Linked DNA regions of Homo sapiens: regions 1, 2, 3, 4, 6 and 7 are each linked to region 5. Evidence: promoter capture Hi-C in 16 types of primary human blood cells and fetal thymus (Javierre and others, 2016). All regions are on one chromosome and are shown on one strand. The core of a region is centred on a gene start or on the middle of the fragment in contact, and the rest is flanking DNA. Distances in the headings are between cores, read along the strand shown. Region 1 has its middle 26 kb from the start of MED30. Region 2 overlaps LOC105375716 (a long non-coding RNA gene). Region 3 overlaps MED30 (mediator complex subunit 30). Region 4 overlaps LOC105375716 (a long non-coding RNA gene). Region 5 holds the start of EXT1 (exostosin glycosyltransferase 1). Region 6 has its middle 44 kb from the start of MED30. Region 7 overlaps LOC105375716 (a long non-coding RNA gene).

What was found. The method cuts DNA at HindIII sites, captures the fragments that hold promoters and counts their contacts. A CHiCAGO score of 5 or more calls a contact.
Region 1: a fragment that was not itself captured here is called in contact with the fragment with the promoter of EXT1 in region 5 in 7 of 17 cell types (naive CD4 T cells, monocytes, naive B cells and 4 more); the score reaches 6.9 in naive CD4 T cells.
Region 2: a contact is called between a fragment that was not itself captured here and the fragment with the promoter of EXT1 in region 5, in 8 of 17 cell types (total CD8 T cells, naive CD8 T cells, naive CD4 T cells and 5 more). The highest score is 8.0, in total CD8 T cells.
Region 3: a contact is called between a fragment that was not itself captured here and the fragment with the promoter of EXT1 in region 5, in 13 of 17 cell types (naive CD8 T cells, total CD8 T cells, naive CD4 T cells and 10 more). The highest score is 13.3, in naive CD8 T cells.
Region 4: a contact is called between a fragment that was not itself captured here and the fragment with the promoter of EXT1 in region 5, in 7 of 17 cell types (naive CD8 T cells, total B cells, total CD4 T cells and 4 more). The highest score is 14.3, in naive CD8 T cells.
Region 6: a contact is called between a fragment that was not itself captured here and the fragment with the promoter of EXT1 in region 5, in 1 of 17 cell types (total B cells). The highest score is 5.4, in total B cells.
Region 7: a contact is called between a fragment that was not itself captured here and the fragment with the promoter of EXT1 in region 5, in 10 of 17 cell types (naive CD8 T cells, total CD4 T cells, monocytes and 7 more). The highest score is 19.8, in naive CD8 T cells.

The regions. Positions count from the first base shown.
Region 1 is chr8:117,545,419-117,548,118 of GRCh38, forward strand. No RefSeq gene overlaps it. Among named protein-coding and RNA genes, the nearest start is that of MED30, 26 kb to the left of the region's middle. The HindIII fragment of the contact is 340 bases long and covers 1,214-1,553 here.
Region 2 is chr8:117,494,239-117,496,938 of GRCh38, forward strand. The region is part of intron 2 of LOC105375716 (a long non-coding RNA gene); the gene reads right to left. Among named protein-coding and RNA genes, the nearest start is that of MED30, 25 kb to the right of the region's middle. The HindIII fragment of the contact is 539 bases long and covers 1,065-1,603 here.
Region 3 is chr8:117,529,092-117,531,791 of GRCh38, forward strand. MED30 (mediator complex subunit 30) reads left to right here. Exons shown (of 4, transcript NM_080651.4): 3 at 1,632-1,736. Among named protein-coding and RNA genes, the nearest start is that of MED30, 9.7 kb to the left of the region's middle. The HindIII fragment of the contact is 1,596 bases long and covers 559-2,154 here.
Region 4 is chr8:117,449,395-117,452,094 of GRCh38, forward strand. The region is part of intron 3 of LOC105375716 (a long non-coding RNA gene); the gene reads right to left. Among named protein-coding and RNA genes, the nearest start is that of MED30, 70 kb to the right of the region's middle. The HindIII fragment of the contact is 7,419 bases long and covers 1-2,700 here.
Region 5 is chr8:118,110,558-118,113,257 of GRCh38, forward strand. It overlaps EXT1 (exostosin glycosyltransferase 1), which reads right to left and starts at 1,269. Exons shown (of 11, transcript NM_000127.3): 1 at 1-1,269. The coding sequence starts at 489. RefSeq lists silencers at 1,122-1,211, 1,312-1,691. The HindIII fragment of the contact is 5,337 bases long and covers 1-2,062 here.
Region 6 is chr8:117,563,230-117,565,929 of GRCh38, forward strand. No RefSeq gene overlaps it. Among named protein-coding and RNA genes, the nearest start is that of MED30, 44 kb to the left of the region's middle. The HindIII fragment of the contact is 1,266 bases long and covers 707-1,972 here.
Region 7 is chr8:117,510,324-117,513,023 of GRCh38, forward strand. All of the region lies in intron 2 of LOC105375716 (a long non-coding RNA gene), which reads right to left. Among named protein-coding and RNA genes, the nearest start is that of MED30, 9.0 kb to the right of the region's middle. The HindIII fragment of the contact is 1,127 bases long and covers 880-2,006 here.

The DNA.
Region 1 (2,700 bases), core at 134-2,633, 570 kb before region 5:
ACTACATGCGGCTAGTTCTTACCAATCCTTCCAATGTTGTAGCCATTGGCCTAGTAAGGTCAAAGAGTTTGGGGTGTTTCCTAAAGCTACTGGCCTCTGTTTGGAGAATTATTTTTTTCCTTGACCTTTAAAGGATTTTGTAACAAGTGTTTTGCACCAGTCTTGTGTCCTTTCTTGCTTGTTTACAACTGTTTCTGTATTTGTGGGGGAGAGGGAGAGGAGTCGGTGGGAGAAGGGTCTTTTTCTTTCAGATGGTGGAGGGCAATACCATCTTAGGGCATTCTCACCCTCTCCTATGGCTGAGTCCTGAATAGAGGGTGAGAATATGGACCCTGGAGACAAACTGCCTGAATCCCAGCTCTGCCGCTTACCAGCTGTTCCTTTGAGCAGAATTTTCGAGTTGCTTATGACTTGATTTTCTCTTCTATAAAAGGGACAAATAGTATGTTCTTACACGAGTTTTATTTTTAAACAGCTCTGAGGAACATTTATATTTACAAGAGCCAAATACTTTAAAAATCTACCAATGCCTTACCTAGCAAACAACTCCATCATTTGCAAGGATGAAATGAGATAAGGAGCTAGCATTGTGCCTCCACGAAAAGGGAAGGGGATCTGTAGATGTCAGATATCATCCCTACTTGGATAAAAACTAAAGATTTAAAAAATAAATGCATAATCATTTATTTCCCCCTCCCCATAAGCCAGCATTTTCTCCAACTGCTTTCATCAAAGCAGTGGAATTTCAACAACTCAGTTAGAAAATGGCATCACCACTGCCATTTTCTCTTTTAGCAAAGCCCTAACTCCCTGCCCTGCCCAGAGCTATTTTGATCCTATCTGTCTCCTTCTATCATTTGTCTTATCCATCTCCAATTTCTGTCAGTCTTTATTTCAAATATGTTTTATAAATGTGTATCTCCCTTGGACACGCCAAGTGCAATAACTGCCTTTCAGGATGCTTCACCTCTCACCTCAATCACATGTGTGGACAAAGCCAGCCTTGGCATGACCTCTTCTTCAGCTTGCATACCCTACTGTCCCCTCTTTGTTCTTTCTGGCTAAATCCTGAACCATCCTTCAAGATTCATCTCAAAGCCCACTGCTGCCCCCGAGATCTTTCCACACTGATTTCTGTCATCCCTGAACTCTGAGGGCTCATGGATTCATCACATCTGCCCTCTGCTCTAATGTTTTAGTTTCATGTGTGTGAAGCTTTGTCTGCCCAAGTAAATGAAAAGCTCCTGGGAATGGGATTAATTCTCCCTCTTTCCCCACCCAGCACAATGCAATGACACTCACAGATATCCAGTTATAGTGGTTGAGCTTGCTTGATTCAGAATTCATTGTAGTTTGCAAGTTCCACAGATTAGGAAATAATCTTTCTACTTTTTATATTGCCTCAAGCAGTTACTTCTTTTTTAAAAACAACATTTGATGCAAGAAATAATACTTCTGAAGTCAAAATAATTATATGTTAATGATTAAATTTATATATGAATGCTTTCATTGTGGTACCCATAAAATTAAAGATAAAGCAAAATCTTAGAATAAGCTTCTATACTATGATATCAAGAGTAGTCCAAACTCACTGATTGACAGCCTGTTATGAAGAGGTAGTAATATACAGTATATCACTAAATCATGAAAACAATCATATGAGATAGATATTACATTATTGCCTTTTTACAGATCAGGAACCTTAAGCACATGATAGAAAAAAGGGTGAAGACTGAAAGCAAGGCACATGTTTTTCCCTGGAGAAGTTATAGAGAATCAACAAAGGTGGTAGATTTTTTTTTTCTGCCAGACCCTGTTCTAAATGTAGTAACTCATTTAATCCACACAACTTCCTAAAATAAAAACTATAGTATTCCTTCCATTTTACAGACCAGAAAACATAAACCCAGAGAGGTTAAATCACTTGCCCAAGGCCACACAGCTAGAAAGTAGCTGAACTGGCTTCAAATCTCAGTCAGTCTGGCTCCAAGAGTACTGGTGCCTTTTTTTTTTTTCTTTTTTTGAGACAAGGTCTTGCTCTGTCACCCAGATTGGAGTGCAGTGGCACAATCATGGCTCACTACAGCCTCAACCTCCCAGGCTCAAGCAAACCTCCCACTTCAGCCCCCCAGTTATTCAGGTGCAGCAGCTCACATCTGTAATCCCAAGGAGGCTGAGGTGGGAGGATTTTTTGAGCCCGTGAGTTCAGGACCAGCCTGGGCAATATAAGTGAGACCTCCGTCTCCACAAAAAATAAAGAGTCCTTGTTTTTAACCAATAAACTTACTACACAAGTCAAAAACATGGTTATAACACTGACAGATGTGTGGTATTAAAATCTCAATGTCTCTGAAAGAGTTAGACTCTTCAGACCTTGAACTCCTCCCAGCAATCAGCAAAACCCTTGCCCTAAAAACAACAACAAAAAAAGATAATCATATCTGTGCAGACTTAGCATGGACCTGATTGATAACAAGCACTTGGTAAATGTTAAGTACTCCTGTCCACACCACCGCTACCACCACATGTGCCCTTCTACTATGGCTACATGACCAACACCAGTTAAGAATCATAGCTTCCTGGAACACATGAACAGCATCTTGCTTTTTTTCTCAGAGTCTTTTCTCACAGAACGCTTTATCTTATTTTCTGCTTCTTCAGGGTTGTAAAGGTCTTTCTGAACAGGTCGTGGAAAAGAAA
Region 2 (2,700 bases), core at 84-2,583, 620 kb before region 5:
TGTTTTTGTACCAGTACCATGATGTTTTGGTTACTGTAGCTGTAGTAGATTTTAAAGTTGGGTAATGTAATGCCTCCAGCTTTGTTCTTTTTGTTTAGGATTGCCTTGGCTATTTGGGCTCTTTTTCGGTTCCATATGAATTTTTAAATAATTTTTTCTAATTCTATGAAGAATGTCATTGTTAGTTTGATAGGAATAGCATTGAATCTGTAAATTGCTTTGGGAAATATGGCTGTTTTAATGATATTGACTCTTCTTATCCATGAGCATGGGATGTTTTTCCATTCGTTTGTGTCTTCTCTGATTTTTTTGAGCAGGGTTTTGTAGTTCTCATTGTAGAGATCTTTCACTTCCCTGGTTAGCTGTATTCCTAGGCATTTTATTCTTTTTGTGGCAATTGTGAATGGGATTGTGTTCCTGATCTGGCTCTCAGCTTGGCTGCTTTTGGTGTAGAGAAATGCTACTGATTTTTGTATATTGAATTTTTTATCCTGAAATTTTGCTGAAATTTTTTATCAGCTAAAGGAGCTTTTGGGTCAAGACTATGGGGATTTCTAGATATAGAATCATGTCATGTGAAAACAGGGATAGTTTAACTTCCTCTCAACCTATTTGGATGGCACTTACTTCTTTCTCTTGCCTAATTGCTCTGTCTATATTTCTCTCACCCTTTACTTTGTGTCTATAGGTGTCATTATACGTAAGATGGGTTTCTTGAAGGTGGCAGACAAATGGACTTTGTTTTTGCTTTTTTTATATCCAACTTGCCACTCTGTGCCTTTTAAGTAGGTCAGTTAGATCACTTACATTCAAGGTTTACATTTATATGTGAAATTTTGATGCTATCATGAAGTTGTTAGCTGGTTGCTTTGCAGTTTCTATTGTGGTTGCTTTATAGTGTCTATGAGCTCTGTACTTAGGTGTGTTTTTGTGGTAGGAGGTATTGTTCTTTCACTTCCATGTTTAGAAACCCTTAAAGATCTCTTGCAAGGTTGGCCAAGTGGTAGCCAACTCCCTTAGTGTTTGGTTGTTTGGAGAACATTTTATTTTCCCTTCAGTTATGAAGCTTAGTGTGGCAGGATTTGAAATTCTTGGTTGGAATTTCTTTTTTTAAAAAATGCTTAAAAAAGGCCTCCAGTCTCTCTTGGCTTATAAGGTTTCTGCTAAGAAGTCTGCTGTAAGCCTAATGGGGTTCCCTTTGTACATAATGTGACCTTTTTCTCTAGCTGCCTTTAAGATTTTTTCTTAGTTTTGATCTTGGACAGTTTGGTGACTATATGCCTTAATGATGTTCATTTTTTATAGTATCTCACAGGAGTTCTCTAGATTTCTCATATCCAGATGTCTCCCTCTAGCAAGATTAGAGCAATTTTCTTGAATTATTTTATTAAATATATTTTCCAGGTTGTTTTATTTCTCTTCATTTCTCTCAGAAATGCCAGCATTTGAAGGTTTGGTCACTTTACATACTCCCATATTTCTCAAAGACTTTACTCATTTTTTAAAATTTGTTTTTTCTTTATTTTTTTCTGACTGGGTTAGTTCAAAAGATCAGTTTTCAAGCTCTGAAATTCTTTTTCTGCTTGTTCCAGTTTATTGATAAAGCTTTCTTTGTATTTTCAAGTCCTTTAAGTGAGATTTTCAATTCCAGAAGCTCTGATTGAGTTCTTTTTAAGATGTTTATCTCTTCCTTCATTTCCTGGATTGTTTTAGAAGCTTCTTTGTGTGGATTTTCAACATTTTCCTTGATCTTGTTGAGCATTCTTTCAATCCATGCTTGTCTTGTTTACCTGTTATTTCTGAGCTTCTATTTTGGTTAGGAACCATTGCTGGAGAGTTAGTGCAATCCTTTGGTGGTGATGTCCCTGCATTCAGATTTTTCATGGTGCCTGAATTCTTGCTCTGGTACCTTCTCCTCTGGAGATGCTGGCACTAATTTTTGTAATTATTTTTTGTGCATAGGATTTCTGCACAGGAAGGGTAGGGAAACCCAATCTGCTAACCCATGTGAGTGGTTGCTCCAAATGCCTGGAGATCTGCCTGTGTGTAAAGCAGAGAGGGCCCTACTGCACCACAATCTATGTCCATGAAGGGTAGAATGGCTCAGGCTGCTGGTCCAGGCTGTCTTAATGCTTTATTTCTGCCTGTGGGTAGAGTAGAGGGCCCCACCGTACCAAAATCTCAGGGGAGCAGGCTGGAACTCCCAGCAATGACACACACAGACCCATTCCAGATTTCCAAGTTGGACCTGGCTATAAGTCTCATCATCTAGAAGAAACTGCTGCTATAGAAATTCTCCTCCCACCCCAGGCTTGTGATGGGGGATAGCACAATTCCAGCACCTACTGCTAAGGCACCTTCCACAGTTCTGGCTGTGGAGGCCCCTGTGCTCCAGAGCAGGAACTTCAATCTGTGGCCCAAGACTTAAATGATTGTGCATCCACACTGCCTGTTGCCAAAGAACGGCTTTGTATCTTCAAGTCTTTTTGAATGAGATTTTTAAAAGATCAAACAGGAATATAAAAACCAAAAGAATTAAGGTTCCCTCCGCCTTCACTACTGACTAGTATTAGAGTATGAGAAAGGCAAACTATACAAATAGAATATTCTAGAAGTAAGTCAAATAAATTGATCTACAGGAAAATATAATTGTACACTCAAAAGAGTGTTGAGATTATTAGTGGATTATTATGTCCACAA
Region 3 (2,700 bases), core at 107-2,606, 580 kb before region 5:
TCCTTTTAATTAAGTCAGGGATATTTTTAGTAGGAATTTTAATAGTATCATATACTTTTAAGGTGGTTTTCATGAAGTACTTTACAGATAAAATATTATTTTTATTATTATTAATTTGGATTTTATATTTAGCCCAGTGGAATCACTATATTTTAAAAATATATTCTCTAAATTTAATCTTGGGTCATACCTATTTAGTTAATTAGGCATATATTTCTATAAGTCACCCTTTCCTGTTGACAAATTATATCTCTGCCACCAAAGGAAGCTGGTAAGAGATGACCAGAGAAAAATTAAACTGCAAAAATGCCTAAAAAGAAGGGGTCAGAGATGTGGGAGAAAGATCAGAAATGTGGCCTACATCGTCAGATGCTACAGAGAAGTCAGGGAAAATAAGGAATGAAAACTGTCCAGTAGATTTTGCTAGATGAAAATTGTTGGTATATTTGAGTAGAGCTTCAGTGAAATGATAGCAGCGTGAAGTCTGATCCTAGTCGGGTGAAGATTAAACAGGAAATAAGAAGCTGGAGCCGGCAAGTGGATATCAGTCTTTCAAGAAGCTTTGAAAAAAATAAGAGAGGAAAGCAGTAGATGGAAGGAGAGATGGAATCGAAGGTTTGCAGGAGGAAGAGGAGCTTCCCTCCAAATAGAAGAGATAGGAACATGTTTGAATAATAAAGGAAGAAAGCTGTAGGGAGAGGTTGAGAGAAAGGTGTATAAATAATGAAGACAGGAGGGCAGAGTAATCAGGGCACAGGAATGGAGACTAATCGTCTTCAGGAGGAAGGACAGCTCTGCATTGAGACAGATGAAAGAAAGAAAAGGAGAATGTAGACATGGGTGAGTTTATATATATCCCAAGAATTTGAAGAAGTTTTATCAGGTGAATCCTAGTTTTACCAGTCATTTACCTTTAGCCTATTCTTGCATTGGTAATACACGATGGTAAAGGCTAGGTGATTCCTGAAGTCTGCCACACTTATGCGGTAAATTCCATCACTAACCATGCATACTTAATTACGATTCTGCTAGAAGTTTCATTGCTATATAAATTTGTTTCTCCTACAAAGAAAAAGTTCTCACAACTGCGAAAACTTAAGACATCTAGAAGTTTGCATAGACTCTGAAGTTTTAGATTGCAAGTTAATGACAATTATATAATACAGATCCGTGAAGTTCTTTTCTTTTTATTGCAGATGAAGGAAAGCCTGTTTTATCTATCTCAATAGACTACAAATCTCTTAGGGGCAGGAATCACATCTTGTTTGGCATTACTTTTATAGTGTTTCATAATTAAATATTTGCTGATTGAGTAGGGTTTTTTTAAATTTTTATTTTATTTTATTTTATTTTTTACTTCTCCCATCTTCCTGCTGGAAGTATTGTTTAGTTGTACATGACAACCAATGTTATAAAGGCTGTTTTGCAAAAGAAACCTGAAAGGGTAATGCATAGAATGCATTGAAATGGTCAACTATTAAAGCTCTTATTTCAGGCCATCACCTGAATTGAAATTATTTTTATACAAATAAAAGTATAAAAATTGACCTTAATCTGATATATTCTCTATACAAGTGATTAGAAAACTTGAATTATATTTTTGCCTTTTAATTTTTGTTAATCATTCCCAGCAACTTATTCCATATGTGGAAGAAGATGGCTCAAAGAATGATGATCGGGCTGGCCCACCTCGTTTTGCTAGTGAAGAGAGGCGAGAAATTGCTGAAGTAAATAAAGTGAGTTGTTAGTTTTTACATTTTATGTTTTAGAGTTATTGATAAAAATTACTAGGGAGTCTGATGTAACTCCAAAACATAATTTGAATTATCAAATTACATGAAGTTGTTTCTGCGGCAAACTTCACCTATTTAGAATACAGCCAAGAAATGAAAGGTAAGCAGAAATGCTGTCTGAATAGTCAGAAGAGAAATTGCAAAATTCATTCGATAAAGCTCTTAGAAGAGCTCCTTAGACACTTAGTCACAATCCATTTACTTTTTTCTTTTCTGGGCAGAATTCTACCTTTCTAGCTTATAGCATATTTGGAGCAGCAAATGATAAAAATTTACAAATATGAAATGTGAATGTCTCAACACCTGAATAAAAAATTTAGAGAACTATCCCAGCATTATTATCTACTCCAACCCCACAAAAAGCTTGTAACTGGAATGTATTTATCGCTGAATACTTTCAAAAGTTCAGAAGATAATGTTCAAATAGTTCTCGTGAAACAGAGAGAAATAGGGAAAGGTGTCAGTTCATTCTGGGGATGGAAATGTGGCCCCAGCTTAGCAAAACCTACCAGAGATAGCACAGTGAATAAAACTTTCAGCATCACTCTTTCACTGACAAATATAGATTGCCCCTTCCTGAAATTCTTAATTCTAATTAATAGAACTCATCAGTGTATTAATAATCCACCACTGCCAAAGAGAGTCTTCTGAGGTATATGAAGATTTTATAGTTCAGTTTGTATGTATAATACATGATGTCAGTAAACTACCTTGAAAAAAGATTTTCTCACATGTCTAAAAGACATCTGATAAAATTCAATACTGTTGCTGATTCAAAGGACACTTAAAACTATTAGCAAGACAGTGTGTTTTTTTTTTAAATCTTTTTCTTTTAGATAAATACCCAACATTTTTCATAAGGTGAAATATAGAAATATCCTTATTAAAAACAAGCATGAAATAAGAT
Region 4 (2,700 bases), core at 59-2,558, 660 kb before region 5:
GGTATTAGAGGATAATTCAGACACTGTCCTATTTGATCAGAAGCCAGATCTCAGCCCCAAAGACGACCAGGATGATGCAGACATCACTGCCATTACCACTCCCACAACTGCACAATCATATATACACACATGAACTATCTCTGCCACTGTCCATAGGAAGGAGTTTGAGCCAACTTTCTTTGAAACTCAAAGGTCAACTCGCATCTCGGCCACACATACAATATGTAGTTAATACACAGTATTTATGAAAGAGCTTTAGAAATATATTTAAATCTATCCAAATACGAGATGTAACATAGACGTTAGTATTTGTGTATTTTGATGGTAGCATTTGGTTGTTATCCAATTAAATTCCCTTAATTGTTTTGAATTTTACTAGGCAGCAGAGTGGGCAGACATATGGGAAAGAGGGAGGTAGAAAGGGACATACAGTACTCAACCCTAAAAGGAGCTTCCAGTTCGACCCTAAAGTATTATAAATGGAAGCATCCTGCACTGCAACTTTCTACCTTCACCCTAATGTAAAAATTTATGTCCTAAGATTTGGTGAAGGAACCAAACATGTATGACTCAGTTGCTACCTCATTCTTTTTATTCATACTCCCACCAATTGTGCATCCCTGAGGTGAGGACACATAGATCGAAATCAAGGTATTTTGTCTAGATGTTGGTCTGCATGCCTGTTTCTCTCAGTCACCACTAATAGACTTCAACATTTGTGAGGCAATAATTCTAGATAAGTGATTCTACTTGGCAGATCCAACTTCTTCAGCTATGCCTAGGGATAAAGGTAGCAGAAAGCCCAGTGGTGACCATAGATCCCAGTAAATTTCCCAATCTATATTTACAAATAATTCTAGTATTTTGATCCCTGTTCATCTTACTCCTAGCAATTTTCTCATAGATTTCAGACTTGAGCTCGGCTCAGGAGATGGATGATTAATTAACACCCCAAAACCCCAACAATATAATTAATTTCCAGTGAAAATTATACTATAACTAAAACAGAAGTAACCTGGTAATTGATGGTGATTGCCTTGCAGCTATGTCTTGGCTGCCATCTCTAAAAAGGAAGCCAATTTTCCAAAAATGCATGTTAAATGCTGTACACAATTGATTCTGCATGTCATTAAGCCAAGGAGGATATTACTTACAGGGTTATTCATTTTTACTTTACTTTAATTAATGTTTAAAACCTCTAAATCACTTATAACAATTAAGACAATTAACTTTGGGGGGAACTATGGATTTGGAACCTCGTAACACTCTTTAAAATCGCTGATATTTTCTTCTTTTACTAGAATTCACTTTGATAAACCACAAGTCAGAATAGCAATGTATTTGGCTCCCTTTTTAAACACACTGTGTATGTTCCTATTGAATTTTAGTTTCCTTTTTAGAGTTCTGGGGAAAAAAAGAAATAGTAACCTTTCCACATATTTTACAAGGCTGAAATATTTTGATGGATCCTGATTACTGAAAGATTTTAAGTTCTATATTTCACATCAAATATACTTCTTTTTTATTGAGTGTTCTAATAAATAACAAAAAAAGCCTGGATCATGTGGTATTTTAGTTAGTAGAAGCACTACATATATAGATGTGTGTGTGTGTGTGTGTGTGTGTGTGTGTACTGTATCTAATTATAGTCTCTGAATAGGATCAAAATATTTCACATATTGGCATATTTATTTAAAATATCTTTCTAAAATATATGGAATAGAAAATAGTATAATAAATACCAGTATTTATTAAGCACTTACATTTCAGGTGCTTCATAGAATATGGCTCATTTAATCTTCATGATGGCCTTATCACACTGTTTTCAAACTTTACACAAGGGTCCTCTGTGCAACTTGGTAAAAAGGCAGATCCCCAGAGTCAATTCAGTCAGGATTCTGATTAAGTAGATCTGGAAGGATTTAAAGGATCTCTATTTTTAACAAACCTCTCCAGATTCCTCTGGTATAGGTAGCCTGTGGAACACACTGTAAGTAACATTGCCTATTAAATATTGCCTAGGCCGGGCGCGGTGGCTCACACCTGTAATCCCAGCACTTTGGGAGGCCGAGGCGGGTGGATCATGAGGTCAGGAGATCGAGACCATCCTGGCTAACAAGGTGAAACCCCGTCTCTACTAAAAAAAAAATACAAAAAAAATTAGCCGGGCGCGGTGGCGGGCGCCTGTAGTCCCAGCTACTCGGGAGGCTGAGGCAGGAGAATGGCGTGAACCCGGGAAGCGGAGCTTGCAGTGAGCCGAGATTGCGCCACTGCAGTCCGCAGTCCGGCCTGGGCGACAGAGCGAGACTCCGTCTCAAAAAAAAAAAAAAAAAAAAAAAAAAATATTGCCTAATAAAATTTGACCATAATCTTAGATGAATAAACTAAGAATCAAGAAACTTAAATATCTTGTTTAAGTTCCCCTATTCATGAAAAATAATGCTTTTGCTCTTGAGAGTAAGCATTTAAGTCTCATGAGGAATGGAGAAAAGGTTAAGAAATAGGAACAAAAACATGAGACAGTGGCATTGGAAAGTGATGACTATAAAAATAAGGAATAGTGGTGAGGTCTTTGGTTCTGGTCATGGCTGAGTATCTGGTATCAAACCTATCCTCTTCTTATCATAAATTGGTATAAAAGGTGGATAAAATATATAAAGTAAGTGTTTTCAGACACTGTTTAGCAATTAATCCTAGGCT
Region 5 (2,700 bases), core at 19-2,518:
TCTGTCTAAAGTATCCAGACTCAGGACAAAGAGGCACGCCTGGCTGGGGTCCGAGGTGTAGAACCTGGAGCCCTCGATGGCCGCTAGAATGTTTTGGTAACTTTCGGCGATTTTCTCCCCTTTTTGCTGTGGGTATACGTAGACTTTGAAGCCGTTTTTCTTGCAAAGGGTGAAATCGAAGCAGGACTCCATGCGGCACTTCTTGCCTTTGTAGATGCTGGAGTTGGCATCTCGCTTCTGCCGGGGGGAAATGTGCACGCTGGAATCCTCGTTTTCCAATTGATCCCAAGGAACGAAGGGGCGCAGAGCGTCCGGGAAGCGGGGCCAGAAATGATCCGGACTGGGGTGGTGCAAGCCATTCCTACCGCTGTGTTCTTCTCTCCGGCTGTGGCTCCTCGATGCCCTAAACTGCAAGCCTCCGAAATAAAACAAAAGGGCGAGACAAGAGCCAGCTGAGAGCAGGATGAAATAGCGTTTTTTGGCCTGCATGTGTCCTGCCTGGGTCAAGAGGATTGTAAATAAACACAAGAATCACCCAAGTTTCCCAATCAACACTTTCAGCTCCAGTCCGCCATCTTCCCGCCTGTAAAGACTTCAAACTCTCCGCTCCCACCTTCTCTGGATGCCTTTCCCCAAGCCGTGGACTGATCCAGCGCATGTGGGCGATTTCTTTAACTTTCTCCCCTTCGGTCTTTCATCTTTGGGTTGCACAATGCACGGGAGAGAGCGGGGCTGAATATCTCGCACCCAGGGCGGGCGAGCAGCGGACTGTAATTTTCTTGCATGCAACAAGACGGAGGAAAAGAAAGAGAGAGGGGAGAAAAAAAAAGCTCCCGATACCCAATCAATGGCAAGACGAAGTGATTGCCTTGCCTCTCGGATTCCTCTCGGCAGCGTGGAAAATGAGCCCCGGGAAGGCAACTTCAACTCATCCACCACTCTCCGTGCAGAGCACTCCGGTTCCAACAAGTCAGCCGATCCCGGGTTCAGCCGGCTAGTGCATCTTGCAGCTGGGGCGCCGTAACCTCACAAATCCCTGCATCTCTCTTTATTCCCTTCTGCAGCGGCTCCAAGACTCCGGCGGTGTTTACTCCTGCGCTCGCGGGGCCGGCCCCCGGGACGCGCGGCGGCCCGGCTGGAGGCGGCGGCGGCGGCGGCGCTGGGTGGCGGCGGCGGCGCGTCCTCCCCGCGGGCAGTGCCGGCCCCGAGCAGCGCTTCGCAGGCCCCCGCGCGAACGCTGCCGACCGCCGCGTTCGGTCGCCGAATGTTACCCGGTTCTGAATGTTACACTTACACATTCCATTCCCGACACGACAGCGCTGACCTCATCCATCCACGCAGCCCGCGCTGCCATTGGCCGAGCGTCACGTCCGGGGGGGGCGGTGCTTCCGCTGCGCCCATTCATAACCCCCGGCCGCGGGCCGAGGCGCCGGCGCGGCGTTGGGGGCGTAGGGGGCGCAGGGAGCCGGGGCTCCCGGGTTGCAAGCTGCCGGCGGGCTGCCGGGCAGGTGGAGCGCGGGACGGCCCGGTGCGAGCCCCGCGGCCCCTCGGCGCGCCCAGGCCCGGATCTCGGCCTGCGCCGTGCCGGGGACCAGAGGCGCCTGCGGAAACGCGGCGGCCGGGGAAGGAGGCACCGGCAGGGGCCCCGTGCCGCGCGGCCCCGGGCGCCCTGGAGAATCTGGCCTCCTGGGCTGCCTGCCGGAACGCCTAGAGAAAGATGCTTTGAAGGAGGGAAGCAGGGAGGAAAGGAAGACTTCATAGAAAGCGACCGCCGATCCGAAAGCTGCCTCTCCCAGCCCTCCTTCCACTCTCCGAGACCCAGTATTTCAATTTTCTGCTAAGCATTAAAACAATCTCCCCTTACTCCTCCTCTACATAGCACATTTTTTTAAACCAAAGAAACACCCCAATGCCCAACAATAAAGAGGAATTATTACAATCAAGAGGAATTGTTGCAATTCTTCATGCCTGCCTCTGTGCTAAGAGTGTAAGACGGCTATCCTAAATCCTCATTATCTACTTAGGCCGCCTTGCCTGAGCCCCCTCTGTCTATTATGAAGAAAGCTTCCAAGAGATCCAATCACAGAGAAAAAATAAATTTTCTAATGGCTGCAGGGAAACCAGTTAATTTAAGCTTGCCCCAGTCCTCAAAGTGATGTTATTCTCTTGGTGGTGGTGGTGGTGGTGGTGGTGTTAAAGATATCTCTTAAGGACATATGACTGGTAGAATTGCCAACTGTCCCAGCTATAGAAGGAACACTTGCATCAGGAAAACTACCTTATGTACAATTAGTGCCAAATAGTTGGTCCTTCCCTCACTGACCTCCCACTCCTTGGCCCAAGCTCCTGCCACTCCCAGTGGAAGAACTTCATTAGATAACTCAGGTAACCGAGGAGCAGTCCCGCTAAAGATCCTCCAGGTCCACAAAGATGTGCTAGGCTCCCAAACAGTATCTCTGGTCAAAGTCAAACTCCCTGGCCTCAGATCCTGAACACTGCTTTACAGAAAACACCTCCCACCCTCTGGCCTAGCTAAAGTCTCAGGGCTCGGGCAAGCTAGACAGTTGCCTAGGGCAGCCGGCTGTTTAGTGATTGTTTATTATGGGAGTGACTGAGAGCTAGGAGCAGACACTTCCCGGCTTCCCTCAGGCTGCAAAAACCCCAGCGGGGTGTGGATGAAGGGCAGGGTTATAACAAGGC
Region 6 (2,700 bases), core at 90-2,589, 550 kb before region 5:
TCTCAAAAAAAAAAAAAAAAAATACCCATCTGTCAATAAAGAAGGAATCAGCATCCTAAATTATTTGAGCTCTTCTCTTCTGAAGTTTCACAGCAGCCTAAGGCATTCACCAGGGCCTCTGGAGTAAACAAGGGGGAAGCAGGGCCTGCCTAAGTTCACAATGAAGGAGAGGCAGAAAGGCCTTTCCCTAGGTTCCCTGCAAGAAGATGCTGTCCAGCTGGTGCTCAGGGCTCATGTGTCATTTCAGCACTGGCAGCAGCTGTTCCTCACCAGTCCTGTATAAATCTGGAAACTGGAGAACATTGTCAACCTCTGTCCTGTTGCACTGGTATCTTCTTTCCCCAGTGAGATGCCTTGGAGACTGAAATGTCCCTGTTTGGAAATGTCAACAAAAGAGACTGCTGCTTTGATTTCCTTGTCCTTCTTTTCTGTTAACACTCTGGAGAGTGTGACGCAGCTGATCTCACCTTACAGAGGCTACCTTGAGTGGTCATTCGGAGAAAGTAGAGGTACTGAAGGTGGAGGAGGTGGCTTTCTGGAAGTCAGCAAAGATGACAAAATGCACCAAATGGGAGCTGCCATCAGCCTTGCTCTTTGACCAGCTCTGTCATTTTATAACTTGGGGGTGAATTACAGGTTCGAGTGATAGAGAAGGGGCCATGGCATGTCACCATCTATTTAAAGAGCTGTGAAGACACTGTCAGCAAGCTTTGCCTAACGAGGATGCAGGGATGACCTGCCCTTTATGTTTACTCCTTCAAGATTGAATGTGTGTTGCTGCTTTCCTGCCAGTAAAGGCAACAGTTGCAGTTACATTATTTTTGCAACAAAAGAGTCAACATTTTTCAAAAGTGACACAAATTCACCTTTAACTTTGTTCGAGGAGATTGATTTTTTCTTTCTTTAAAAAATGTTAAAGGTTTAGGTAGTTTGGAAGTTTTTTTAATTTTAGCAGTTTCCAACTCATGCTGAAAGAGTTTGTGGATTTGGTCATTCCGCTAAGCAGTTGCAAATATGCACCTTGCTTAACAACATAGTGGTTATGCTCCTCAAGAGTAGCATTTTACGTTTTACATTTCCAAGTGTAAAAAGATAATGATAACATATTCTCTTCTCCCCCCAAAATTCAATAAGTATAATTGAATATTTAGGCAATATCTTCAGATGCTTTTTATTTTAATACAAATAGCAGTAAAATGTTTATAGTAGAAAACAGCAGTTATATCTCCCACTATCAACAACTTTTGGCTTTCTTAGTTGCTTCTTTCAGAATATACCTCCATAATTTTATAATGTATTTATTCTTATATTTTTTATGTATTGATTTAATAGCATTGACCACTTATACTTATAGGCTGGGCGCAGTGGCTCACATGTATAATCCCAGCAATTTGGGAGGCTGAGGTGGGTGGATCACTTGAGGCCAGGAGGTCGAGACCAGCCTGGGCAACATGGGGAACCCCATCTCTACTAAACATACCAAAATTAGCCGGGTGTGATGGTTCATGCCTGTAATCCCAGCTACTCAGGAGGGTGAGGCATGAGAATCACTTGAATCTAGGAGGTGGAAGTTGCCGTGAGCTGAGATTGCACCACTGCACTCCAGCATGAGCAACAGAGTAAGGTCTGTCTCAAAAAAAGAAAAAGTAGCATAGATGGCAATGTTTGGTGAAGGAAGTCTTCCTGTTAATTCACGCTGCAGTGCCTGAACTTCTTTATCTGATCGTCTTAGAAATTATCAAGAAGATAATTACCCTAATTTGATCATTTTATGCATGTATCAAAACATCACACTGTACCCCATAAATATGTACAATTATTATGTGTCAATTAAAAATACAACAACAAAAAAAAGAAATCCTCAAAACATGGCAGCAACACCTAGCTCTTTGGCTTTGGTACCTTGTCTCTTGATATTCTCGATATTTTTCCTAGAAGTTGATGTCTACAAACACTTAAATGGACCAGAGGAAGCTTCTACCCAAAGGAATCCTCCAAAACATCTCAGTGAAGTATGGACTTCTTCCGATGTCAGAAATAGCTTCAAAATTTAGTTGCTTTGTTAGTATTCAGTTTAATAAATCTTTGATGTTCATAGGAATGTAATCAAAGATCTTCAAGAATTTCCAAATGTAAAAAGATAATGATAACATATTCTCTTCTCCCCCAAAAATTCAATAAGTATAATTGAATATTTAGGCAATATCTTCAGAAGCTTTTTATTTTAGTACAGCATAGTTCACTTTTTAATTTGTCCCAGACTTCTATTTTCTGGATAAGAACCAGTCATCAGTTGCACAGATCTATTCAATATCTTCTTAAAAAAATTTATCCATGCTTCTTATTTTTTAAACCAACTTTGATTTTTATCAAAGTAATGCACAAAATTGTTGAAAAATCAAATAGCAGTAAAAGGTTTATAGTAGAAAATGGTGGTTATATTTCACACTATCAACAACTTTTGGCTCTCTTAATTGTTTCTTTCAGAATGTATCTCCATAATTTTATAATGTATTTATTCTTATTTTTTTTATGTGTTGGTTTCATAGCATTGACCACTTATACTTTGTTAGATAAAGGTTAGCTTTCCTCCTCACATACACTGACACACATACTCTTATCCATATAACTATCCTTTAAGAGTATTACTGTTCACACTTCTGGTTAAATAGTACTGTTTGTTTATATTTTATGACTATA
Region 7 (2,700 bases), core at 193-2,692, 600 kb before region 5:
GCCTACTGTATATTTCCATTTTTATAGAAGTTTAGAAAATCTAAGTTTACCTATAATCGACCAGAGGTTGCCTGAGGTAAGAAATGCAGTGAAAGACAAAGTGTAAGTGACACGGAGGAACTTTTGGAGGTGATGGAAACATTTGGTACCTTAGTTGTGGTAATAGATTTTTAGTGTAAATATATGTCAAAACTTATCAAATCGTTCACTTTAAATATGTGCAGTTTTATCGTATATGAATTTTACCTTAACAAGAAATAAAACATTAAGATAATAAATGCTACTTGTGTTTTAAAAAGAAGATATGGTACCTACTTTCAAAGATTTTTATAATCTGGAAGTAGAGTGAGATGAAACAATAATTTAAAAAAAATTAAGGGGTCTGGCATGGTGGCTTATCCCAGTAATCCCAGCACTTTGGGAGGCCAAAGTGGGAGAATTGCTTGAGGCCATGGAATTCAGGGCCCATCTGGGCAACATAGTGAAAATCCTCTGTCTCTACAAAAATAAAAAATAAAAAAATTACCTGAGTGTGGTGGTGGACACCTGTGGTCCCAGCTACTCAGGAGGCTGAGGTGGGAGGATTGCTTGAGTGGGAAGTCAAAGCTGCATTAAGCTGACTGTACCACTGCACTCCAGCCTGGGTGACTAAGACCTTCTCTCAAAAAATAAAATAGGGGTAAGATACAATAGCTCTCAAAAGTGAAAATAAATACAATAATTTTGAGTTTGGAAATGTAAGCTAATAAATCTTAAAGTCTAGTTTTTGAGTGAATAAGCAAGGCTTACTCACCATTTATGACTTTGTTCATACAAAGGTAACCTGTGAATCTGATTATTAGCGTTCAAAGAACAAAGGAGGTGCTAGTTGTGTGTTTAAGCTTTAATTGAAATACACATTAGAACTATGTTTGAAAATAGACCTTAAAAATTCTCCAGTGCTTATTCCAGAGCTCTGCATCTGTGGACCTTCCATTTTTGATCATTAGGACAATGTTGGTAGAAACCACAGTTTTTTCCTCTAAAGACATTTTTTCCTAATGTACAAGCCTCAAAAAGTAAGTCTCCAGGATTTCATGGCACCTTGAGCCTCCATCTTTTGGCTCAGTCACTGAAAGGGACTTTGTTATAGGCCACCAAGCGTTTATCAAATATTCATGACAGGTCTGGCACTGTGCTAGGCATTTTGGAGAAGAAAGGGGTACATGGAAAGAGTCACTATACCTGCTTCCATTCATGTAAAAATTAACTTTGAATACATACAACAGTTAAGGAATAACAGCAGTATAATAAATACCTTGTAGTGGTTAAACTATAAATGCAATTAAAAGAGCAAAGAAGGCAACACTGAGACAGAGAAATAAGCAAAGGGTCTTGAGTCTGGACTTGAGAAAGGTAGAGGGAAATCAGCAGAAGTGGGAGAAAAATTCACTATCATTCATTCATTCAATGAATATTAAGAATCTACCATGCCGAGGCACTGAGCAAAATACTAAGAACACAGTAGTGAACAAAAATGCACTAATCCTTGCCCCCATAGGTTGCTCCCAGCCTACTAGAAGAAGCAGTTATTGAATAAACAGATATGCAAATAAAAATACAATTGCAAAAGATTATTAGTGCTGTGAAGGAACAGTGCACAGGTGGAAAAGATGCAAGAGCCGAGGAGAGAGGACATGAGCAGAACACACAAAGCCCCCAGGGGATGTTCAGGATTCCAGATTTTAAGTGCAACATTGTGACCAGCTGGTGAAGAAAGCATGCCCTCTAAGGTCAAATAAAGTTGACTAAATAAAGGGTACACTAGGCTGCTACCGAAGAACAACTTCACTCCAGTCTTCTCTTCTAATGCCACCAGCCTCTCTCCCAGATCCTGCTTCTCTTTGGGTTCACTTCTCCTCTGGCACCTTTCCCTTTGTCTAATTCACTCTTTATTTCCCTATTCAAAGTCCTAAGAAAGACAATCTGATTGGTCCAGGTTATTACCTTCAATCCTGCTTGGGTAAAGCTTTTTGTACCAGAGCAGGTTACACATCACTGGCCAGCCTAGAAATTGGTTGCCCTTGGGCCAGATGGTCATCCTGATCCAATCAGCTATGACCAGGAGTCATATGGCACAGAAATGGCTAAGGAAGAAGAACCTAAGATGGAAATGAAGATGGCAAATACCATTGCCAATGTTATTTGTCAACCTCCTTAATACAGCAAAAAAAAAAAAAAAAAAAAAAAGGTTGCTCTAGTAGAGTGAAAGTAAGCAATAGAAGGCTTTGAAAATCAGAGAACTGAGCCTTTTTATGGAGACCACTGAAATCCTACAAAGGAAATATGCAGAGACTGACATGATGAAAGCAGAATTTCAGGAAGACAAGTGAATTTGTCTTCATTTTCTATTTCTTTTTCTATTAAACCATACATTGAGATTTAAAGGTCATAATATTTTCTCTTACCCTCTCAGATCAAATGTGATGAGAAATCGGTACAGAGAGAGATGAAGGTAAAATAGCAGCCTAATTATTGGTAAAGCTAGATTACAGAATATGGCTTAGCATTGACTTCCCCTTGAATTGACTGCCAATCCCTGGCAGGGCAGGGACAGAGCCCAAGAAGTGGAGGAGAAGGCACTATTCTGTTCAGAGGGCCAGTCTTAGGAAGAGAGAGAAAAGGTGGGGGCAGCCCAGACCCCAACTCACCACACAATCA